3 separate regions of the Homo sapiens genome follow, and all the other regions are linked to region 2. Evidence: promoter capture Hi-C in human tissues and cell types (Jung and others, 2019). All regions are on one chromosome and are shown on one strand. The core of a region is centred on a gene start or on the middle of the fragment in contact, and the rest is flanking DNA. Distances in the headings are between cores, read along the strand shown. Region 1 overlaps ABCC10 (ATP binding cassette subfamily C member 10). Region 2 holds the start of RRP36 (ribosomal RNA processing 36). Region 3 overlaps UBR2 (ubiquitin protein ligase E3 component n-recognin 2).

The links. Contacts are between HindIII fragments. The study calls those that stand out against the background at their distance.
Region 1: a contact is called between a fragment that was not itself captured here and the fragment with the promoter of RRP36 in region 2, in 1 of the 25 tissues and cell types used here (dorsolateral prefrontal cortex).
Region 3: a fragment that was not itself captured here is called in contact with the fragment with the promoter of RRP36 in region 2 in 1 of the 25 tissues and cell types used here (spleen).

Annotation. Positions count from the first base shown.
Region 1 is chr6:43,440,940-43,443,639 of GRCh38, forward strand. ABCC10 (ATP binding cassette subfamily C member 10) reads left to right here. Exons shown (of 22, transcript NM_001198934.2): 9 at 923-1,021; 10 at 2,031-2,220. Among named protein-coding and RNA genes, the nearest start is that of MIR6780B, 7.7 kb to the left of the region's middle. The HindIII fragment of the contact is 4,033 bases long and covers 1-2,700 here.
Region 2 is chr6:43,020,282-43,022,981 of GRCh38, forward strand. It overlaps RRP36 (ribosomal RNA processing 36), which reads left to right and starts at 1,342. Exons shown (of 7, transcript NM_033112.4): 1 at 1,342-1,503. The coding sequence starts at 1,374. It overlaps KLHDC3 (kelch domain containing 3), which reads left to right. Exons shown (of 11, transcript NM_057161.4): 11 at 386-1,013. The coding sequence ends at 452. RefSeq lists enhancers at 894-1,625, 1,024-1,133, 1,194-1,243, 1,626-2,357 and silencers at 1,334-1,403, 1,414-1,463, 1,474-1,543. The HindIII fragment of the contact is 3,944 bases long and covers 240-2,700 here.
Region 3 is chr6:42,691,788-42,694,487 of GRCh38, forward strand. UBR2 (ubiquitin protein ligase E3 component n-recognin 2) reads left to right here. Exons shown (of 47, transcript NM_001363705.2): 47 at 1-1,718. Among named protein-coding and RNA genes, the nearest start is that of PRPH2, 29 kb to the right of the region's middle. The HindIII fragment of the contact is 3,806 bases long and covers 1-2,700 here.

The DNA.
Region 1 (2,700 bases), core at 1-2,500, 420 kb after region 2:
AAAAAAAACAAAAATTAGCTGGGTGTCATGGCTCACACCTGTAGTCCTAGCTACTCTGGAGGCTGAGGCAGGAGAATTGCATGAACCCGAGAGGCGGAGGTTGCAGTGAGCTGAGATCATGCCACTGCACTCCAGCCTGGGCGACAGAGCAAGACTCTGTCTCACACACACAAAAAAGTAAAAACCTATAAAAGCTTTTACATCAAATCTGCCCAAGATACCTTACTACCTTGCCTGTTAAAAAGACAGGGTAATAGGCCAGGCACGGTGGCTCACGCCTATAATCCCAGCACTTTGGGAGGCCAAGGTGGGTGGATCACAAGGTCAGGAGATCGAGACCATCCTGGCTAACATGGTGAAACCCCGTCTCTACTAAAAATGCAAAAATTAGCTGGGCATGGTGGCACACGCCTGTAGTCCCAGCTACTCGAGAGGCTGAGGCAGGAAAATCGCTTGAACCCAGGAGGTGGAGGTTTCAGTGAGCTGAGATTGTGCCACTGCACTCCAGCCTGGCGACAGAGCGAGACTCCGTCTCAAAAAAAAAAAAGGGTAGTAAATGTAACAAAGTAGTTAAGAATCTGAATCTGAACTTGTGTCCTGCCCCTTACTAGCTGTGGGCCAGCTAGTTAATCTGTCTGAGCTTTGGTTGCACCTGAGAAAAGGAAATGATACCATCTTCATAAGATTACATTGGGGCTTGAATGAGAGAATGCCTGTAAAGTGCTAGGCACATAGTGTTCAATAAGTGCTTGATGTTATTGGAATTATGTCTTGTCTCCTCTGACTAGCTCACCCCAAATTTAAGTCTACTCTCCTCAAGCTCCCTACTTCTCTTGACTCCCACTATCTCCTGCAAAGGGATAGGAAGTGGGCCAGAAGGTAATGGGAGCTCCCTGACCCACTGGGGCACCTGTTCCATCAGATCCTGCCTGCTGGAGACCAGACAGAGGTGGGGGAGAAGGGTGTCACCCTTAGCGGAGGACAGCGTGCCCGGATTGCCCTTGCTCGTGCTGTCTACCAGGTCAGTTAAAGATGGAGGTTGCAGTGGCAGGGAGGTGGGGGGAGTCCAGAGCCTTGGGAACTTGGCTGAGTTAGGAGGATAGGAATATTTTCCTTAGCATCTGGTTCCTTCCCTCCTCCCTTGCATGTTCCTGAGGTATTGGCCATCTCATCCCCTTTTGCAGATTTAAGGCAGAGTTCAAGGCCTTTAAAAAGTATTTGTAGGCTGGGCATGGTGGCTTAGGTCTGTAATCCCAGCACTTTGGGAGGCCAAGGCAGGAGGATTGCTTGGGCCCAGGAGTTTAAGATCAGCCTGGGCAATGTGGCAAAACCCTGTCTCTACAAAAAATAATTTTAAAAAGTTAGTTGGTGTAATCCTAGCACTTTGAGAGGCCGAGGAGGGTGGATCACTTGAGGTCAGGAGTTCGAGACCAGCTGGGCCAACATGGTGAAACCCCATCGCTACTGAAAAACATACAAAAATTAGCTGGGCATAGTGGCACATGCCTGTAATTCCAGCTACTCGGGAGGCTGAGGCAGGAGAATCGCTTGAACCCGAGAGGCAGAGGTTGCAGTGAGCCAAGATCACACCATTGCACTCCAGCCTGGGTGATGAGAATGAAACCCTGTCTCCAAAAAAATTTAGCTGGGCTTGATAGCATGCACCTGTAGTCCCAGCTACTCAGGAGGCTGAGGTGGGAAGGATCACTTGAGCCTGGGAAATTGAGGCTGCAGTGAGTGGTGTTCATGCCACTGCACTCCAGCCTGGGCAACAGAGCAAGACCATGTCTCAAAAAAAAAAAAAAGTGTTATATGGGCTGAGGGCCTGGGACCTAGGAAAGCTGAGTGCTGGCCCTGGGGTGCTGTTCTTTCTTGCCTGAAGGGATGTCCACCCTCAGGTCTCACCTCCTTCTCTGCTAGTGTAGGGGTAGCCCCCAGAGTTTCTCTCAACTGTCTTCTCTGATCACTTTGAGATCTTCTCCGGAGAGCCTTTGGGTCCTGGTGCCCACGGTACCCTCACGTCTCCATAGGAAAAGGAGCTCTATCTCCTCGATGACCCTCTGGCCGCTGTGGATGCAGATGTGGCCAACCACCTGCTGCACAGGTGCATCCTGGGCATGCTGAGCTACACCACACGGCTGCTCTGCACCCACCGCACTGAGTACCTGGAGAGGGCTGACGCGGTGCTGCTGATGGAGGCCGGGCGCCTCATCCGGGCTGGTAATGGGGGCAGGAGCCCCGTGTGAGGGAGGTGTCTGCCCAGGTCTGGCAGGGGATTGTGAAGTACAGACTCTGCCCCCTGCTGCATGTGTGCCCTGAGCCAGTCATTGCTGCCTCCCGCCTTCACAGAACTGGTGTGAGGAACTGGGAGAACAGGAGGGAAAAGGAGTACGTTGGTAAAATGCCAGTGTATTTGGGACTCATGGGCTTTGTGACTGGGTGCTCTTGGGAACTTAAAGGCCCAGGGTCTCTGAGAACATTCTCATATCTTCAGAGAAGAGAAAGGAGTCAGGTTTAGAATGGTCTTTTTGTAAAAACAAAAATTTTTAAACTCTGAAAGATTTTTATGCAGAGGGATGTGACCACCTGCAAGTTTACTGGGAGAGAAATAGGAGGAAATGAAGCTCCAGCCAGATATTAGGAATTGAGCGAAGCATGAGAAAAAGCTCTGCAGTAATGAGAAGTAACCCTGGACAGAGT
Region 2 (2,700 bases), core at 92-2,591:
TTCCTGGTGGGGTGAGGCATTCCTGGTGAGGGTAAGGTGGAGGGGCTGCCTGGTTGGCTCTAAGCAAAGCAGGAAAGGCAGGTTGGGATGTTGACTGACATGTATACACAGATCTCAGGTGCCTGGACACTGCAATATACATACATACATAAACATAAACCGGAAATCCATATGAGCTTGGAGGTAGAGGAGTGGGTGGTGTTGGATTTGGTGGTGGGTGGGTTCTGATTGTTCAACCTAGTAGGTCTCTTAAGTAAGAGGTGGCTGTGGGTGGTTGACCTTTAGGAAGTTGGAGAGACTGGTGTGTTTTTAGCTTGGTTCAAACATCCCTTAGCTTGGGCTGAGGGCCCCCTCTTCTTTCTGTCTCTTATTGTTGGCCTTCCAGGTGGGAGCTGAATGCCATGACCACCAACAGCAATATCAGTCGCCCCATCGTCTCCTCCCATGGGTAGGAGGAAGTTTCTGCCACCTCCCCTCCTGAGCCTGCTGTCATCTTCACTGCCCCTGCCCATCTGTCACCCACCTGCTCCTTTGACCCCTGGACTTGGTATACCTCCATGTGGAGTTGTTGGGCGAGAGGTGTTCTCTGTGCTGTGAATTCAGTGGGGAGCTGTAGCGGGGTGGGGGCTAGGTTCCTCCCCCCTTGGGCCGAGGGCCCCTTCCCCTTGGTGCTCTGTCCCCATCCACCTCCTTTCAGCTGCTCCTGGGCCTCAGCTCTGCCCAGGGCCAGCCAGGTTCTGCTGGGAAGGGAAGGGAATGGGGAGAAGGGAGAAGCAAGCAGTGTCTGAGCCTCAGGAGCTTCCCCCTCCCCCTTTGCCTATCCCCTCCCCTCTGCTTGAGCCTTGAGCCTTGACTGGGAGCTGAAAGGAGTTGCAGCTGTTGGCATGAGACCTCCTTCTCCCCGTCTTGGGGAGGTGGGGACCAGCAGATAAATCCCACCCTTCCTTGAGCTGTCGCTGTACTCTGAAGTTCAGCCAGCTCAGATTTTATAAAAATTAATTAAAATCTCCAAACGTGTTGTGTGTTTTTGTGGAATATGGTGGAGAAGGCTGGAGTTTGCAGTGGGGGCAGGGTGCCGAGGACAAGCACCCTGAGGTTCTGGCTTCTCAGCCAAGGGTATTAGGAAACCAAATGCCACCAAGGCCTGGTCCAAGCTTCTCGGGCGTGGAACCCAGCACCCTGCGACTCGGGCAGAAGGTTGCGACAATGTCTCCAGAGCGGGTTATCCTTTGGGCCCGGCTCCCTGGCCCTCGACCGCGCAGTTTTCTGCCCATTCGTCACCACGTTGAGACCGGGAACGCCGGAAGAGGCGGGGCAGGGGCTGCCGTGAGCGGAAGCGGCGCCATTCGTCTTCCGAGCGCTACTGCCAGCTGATGCCGGGAGCTAACTACCGCGCCGGGGCCGGGGCCGGGGCCGGGGCCCGACGTCCCCGCGGGGCCCGGGACCGCGAGGAGGACGGCGGGGGCCTGGAGCCCGCGGCCGTGGCCCGCGACCTATTGAGGGGTGAGGGCATGGGGCAGGGCGGGCTGGGGAGGGGAAGGAGATTCCCAGGCGGGGCCCTGAGCCTGCAGAGACGGTGCCGGTAAGACTGCCAAGTTCTCTAAGAGGCAGACGCTACACTAGGGGTGCCCCCAGTGCAGTGGAAAGTGGGGGGTGAGAGTAGATGCTTCCGGGATTAGGACATCCTGAGAAGTTTCTTCACGGCAGGATGAGGGTTTTCGGCGATGGGGAACGTATGTGCAATAGCATGGAGGCAGGAAAAGGCATGCATGGCTGCTGAAGGCTTAGTAGATCAGAATTCAGCAGATTCCGTAGACTTTGTTTTTTTAATTTTTTTTTTTTGAGACGGAGTCTCTCTCTGTCGCCAAGGCTGGAGTGCAGTGGCGCGATGTCGGCAAGCTCCGCCTCCCGGGTTCACGCCATTCTGCTGCCTCAGCCTCCAGAGCAGCTGGGACTACAGGCGCCCGCCACCACGCCCGGCTAATTTTTTGTATTTTTAGTAGAGACGGGGTCTCACCTTGTTAGCCAGGATGGTCTCGATCTCCTGACCTCGTGATCCGCCCGCCTCAGCCTCCCAAAGTGCTGGGATTCCAGGCGTGAGCCACTGCGCCCAGCCTGTTTTTTAAATTTTTTATATTTTTTATTTTTTTGAGACAAAGTCTCGCCCTGTAGCCCAGGCTGGAGTGTAGTTGCACCATGACGGCTCACTGCGGCCTCGAACTCCCGGGCCCAAGAGATCCTCCTACCTCAGCCTTTCGAGTAGCTGGGACTGCAGGCGCGTCACCACGCCTGCACGGATGGGTTTGTTTATTTATTTATTTATTTATTTAATGTAGAAACAAGGTCTCACCTTTTTTTTTTTTTTTTTTTTGACGGCGTCTCGCTCTGTTGCCCATGCTGGAGTGCAGTAGCGCGATCTCAGCTCACTGCAAGCTCCGCCTCCCGTGTTTACGCCATTCTCCTGCCTCAGCCTCCCGAGTAGTGGGACTACAGGCGCCCGCCACCACGCCCGGCTAATTTTTTGTATTTTTAGTAGAGATGGGGTTTCACCGTGTTAGCCAGGATGGTCTCTATCTCCTGACCTCGTGATCCGCCCGCCTCGGCCTCCCAAAGTGCTGGGATTACAGGCGTGAGCCACCTCGCCCAGCCAGGTCTCATCATGTTACCAGGTGCCAGGGCTGGTCTCCAGTTCCTGGGCTC
Region 3 (2,700 bases), core at 154-2,653, 330 kb before region 2:
TTTTTTTCTTTTTTTTTTTATGGCAAGACTTTTGGCTTTGAGAAAACTCACTTAGAGGGCTTTCCAAAAACTTAGGATGGTCTAAAAAATTAGGATATTCTTTTAGAATTAGGAAGAAAAATTAGGATATTCTAAAAGAATATGGATTAAAAATTTAGGATATTCTTTTAGATATCCTAATATCTAGATGAGAGGCCTTCCTTCATAAGATCTGGTTGTTTGGGCTGTGGTTGGCATAAGTGATATTTATTTTGGCCTCTGTCACATCCAGTTTCTTGAGCTTTTAAGGTAAGCTTCTTTTGGCTTTTTTTCAGATGTTCACCAAGCTTAAGTTTAAAATAATAGGTATTCTAAAAGAGTATCCTAATTTTCTTATCTGTATTCTTTTAGAATACCCTAATGTTTCAGACAGTGATATTCTCTTGTTATTTCTAAGGCTAAATTGGCAGAGTATATCATCTAAAGCCAAACACTGAAGAAGGTGAGAACCCACTCCCACCCAGCCAGCATTTCCTGGAACAGACAAGCTGCTGCTTCCTTGCTGGCTCACTTAGTGCATTCCTGGGATGGTCTGGCACCCAGGCTTTTTATTCTTTTTGATCATTGTTCTTACTGAGGTGCCTTCCTAGAACAAGAGCCACTTACAAAATAGCTTATAATTATTATGTACCACACAACTACTATTGTTTGATGTATGACTGCTGAGAGCTTGAATACATGCAGAGAGTGACTGAAGACTTAGTAGAGGAATAAATTCTGAGCCTGTCTAAGGTGGGGCTAAGGAACAGATGAGTAATAAGAGGCTCTTGGATTTTTTTAACCAATGCAACTGACCCTTTCAATCAGTTTTCTTTGAATTACATCTACAAGTTTTGTTCCACTCAGCTACCAGTCAACTAGGCATGCTCCACAGTATCACAGGAAGAAGGTCAGAAATCTGGAACTGAAGCTAAAAGAAGTGAGGATGTAGAAGCCACATTCCTCTCCAAGGTAGTGTGTGAAAGAACCGCCCCCTCTTGACAGGAGGATGACCGTCGCCATTCTTGCGTGGGACTGACTCACCCAGCTGAGAGGAGGACCAATAGAAAGAAAATTCACATTTGAGTCCACCTCTCTCCCCCTTTTTCTGGCCTTCATTCATAAGATCTGGTTGTTTGGGCTGTAGGTGGCATAATTCATGTTTATTTTGGCCTCTGTCACATCCAGTTTCTTTAGCTTTTAAGGTAAGCTTCTTTTGGCTTTTTTTCATATGTTCACCAAGCTAAAATTTAAAATAATAAGACCAGGTTTCTCTCTGTACAAGTGGATTATAAACATTTTCACCAAATCATAACAATACTCCAGCTTTCCGGTCCGACTTCCTAGGAGCCTGGAGTTAGCAAAGGTTGTCTCTGGATTTCATTCTCTGAGAATATCACAGAGCCTGGGAGAAGATGAATTTACATGAAATTGCAACATACACACCTTTTTATTTTCTGGTGTTAAGCTAGTTGTCTTTCCTACCTTACAAATCATGTTAGTTTTATGATTTGTTCCGCATGTTTTATGTTTATTGTAGAAATGTTTATATAACATACGCTTTCCATATCAGGGAAAATCATATCTGTTTAATAAATTGGCTATAACTTTAATATCTGTGGACAACTTGTAAAATTTGGAATGTATCATATGTAAAAAGTTTAAAGATATCCAAATAAATGCTTTAGGTGTTGGCATTACTTTTGGTTAGCATATATCTTTCTGTTTCATTTTACACATTTACCTGCCACAGCAAGGTGCCCGTGTCACCTTGCTACAAATATAGTGGGATATCTGTATTAGCTTTAAATTTAAGAGGGTTATATTATTATGGCCACTAGCCAAACTATCTTGACCTTCTCAGAGAAAGTGTGATCATCATTTCAGCTGATTAAGTTTCATATTCATTAGCCATGACAGCGTGTGACCTTTGTGGACCATTTTGGAACTCAAATCACTGGGAAACAGGGCACTCCAAGACCTGTGTCTGGGTTTAAACTCTTGTTCATCCTTACCTGGTGATCTCAAGGTCCTTGTCCTTACACACTCCCCTAGTGTGCTGGCTGGTTTTTCAGGGCTGTTGGAGGTTTTTTTTTTCTTTTTTTTATGACCACTTCCTGCTTTTGAGAGAGAGACATAGAAAGGCAGCTACACTGTCTTCCTAGGGGAGTCATTGCCCATGAGAATTCTGTTTTTTTTGAAATCCTCTTGAGAGCATCAAACTAAAACAGCAAGGTTTCCATTGCACTCACCCTGCCTCCTGGTCAGTAACACTGCTCCCAGCCTACTGCCTTCACCACTCTTGTCTTTAGTTCCAGGAACTCATGAAGCCCCTTCTGACATGCTCCTCCCTGTCTTCCTACTCTTGATTTTGGTGTGGTGGTGGTTTGGTTTGGTTTTTTTAAAGAGACAGGGTCTTGCTTTGTCCCACAGGCTGGAGTGCAGTGGCACAGCCTTGGTTCACTGCAGCCTCAACCTTCTGGGCTCGAGCAATCCTCCCACCTCAGCCTCCCAGTAGCTGGTACTATAGAGGCACATGCCACCACACCTGGCTAATTTTTGTATTTTTTTTGTAGATACAGCCGCGCTATGTTGCCCAGGCTGGTCTTGAACCCTTGGGCTCAAATGATTCTCCCGCCTCAGCCTCCCAAATGCTAGGATTATAGGTGTGAACCACTGTGC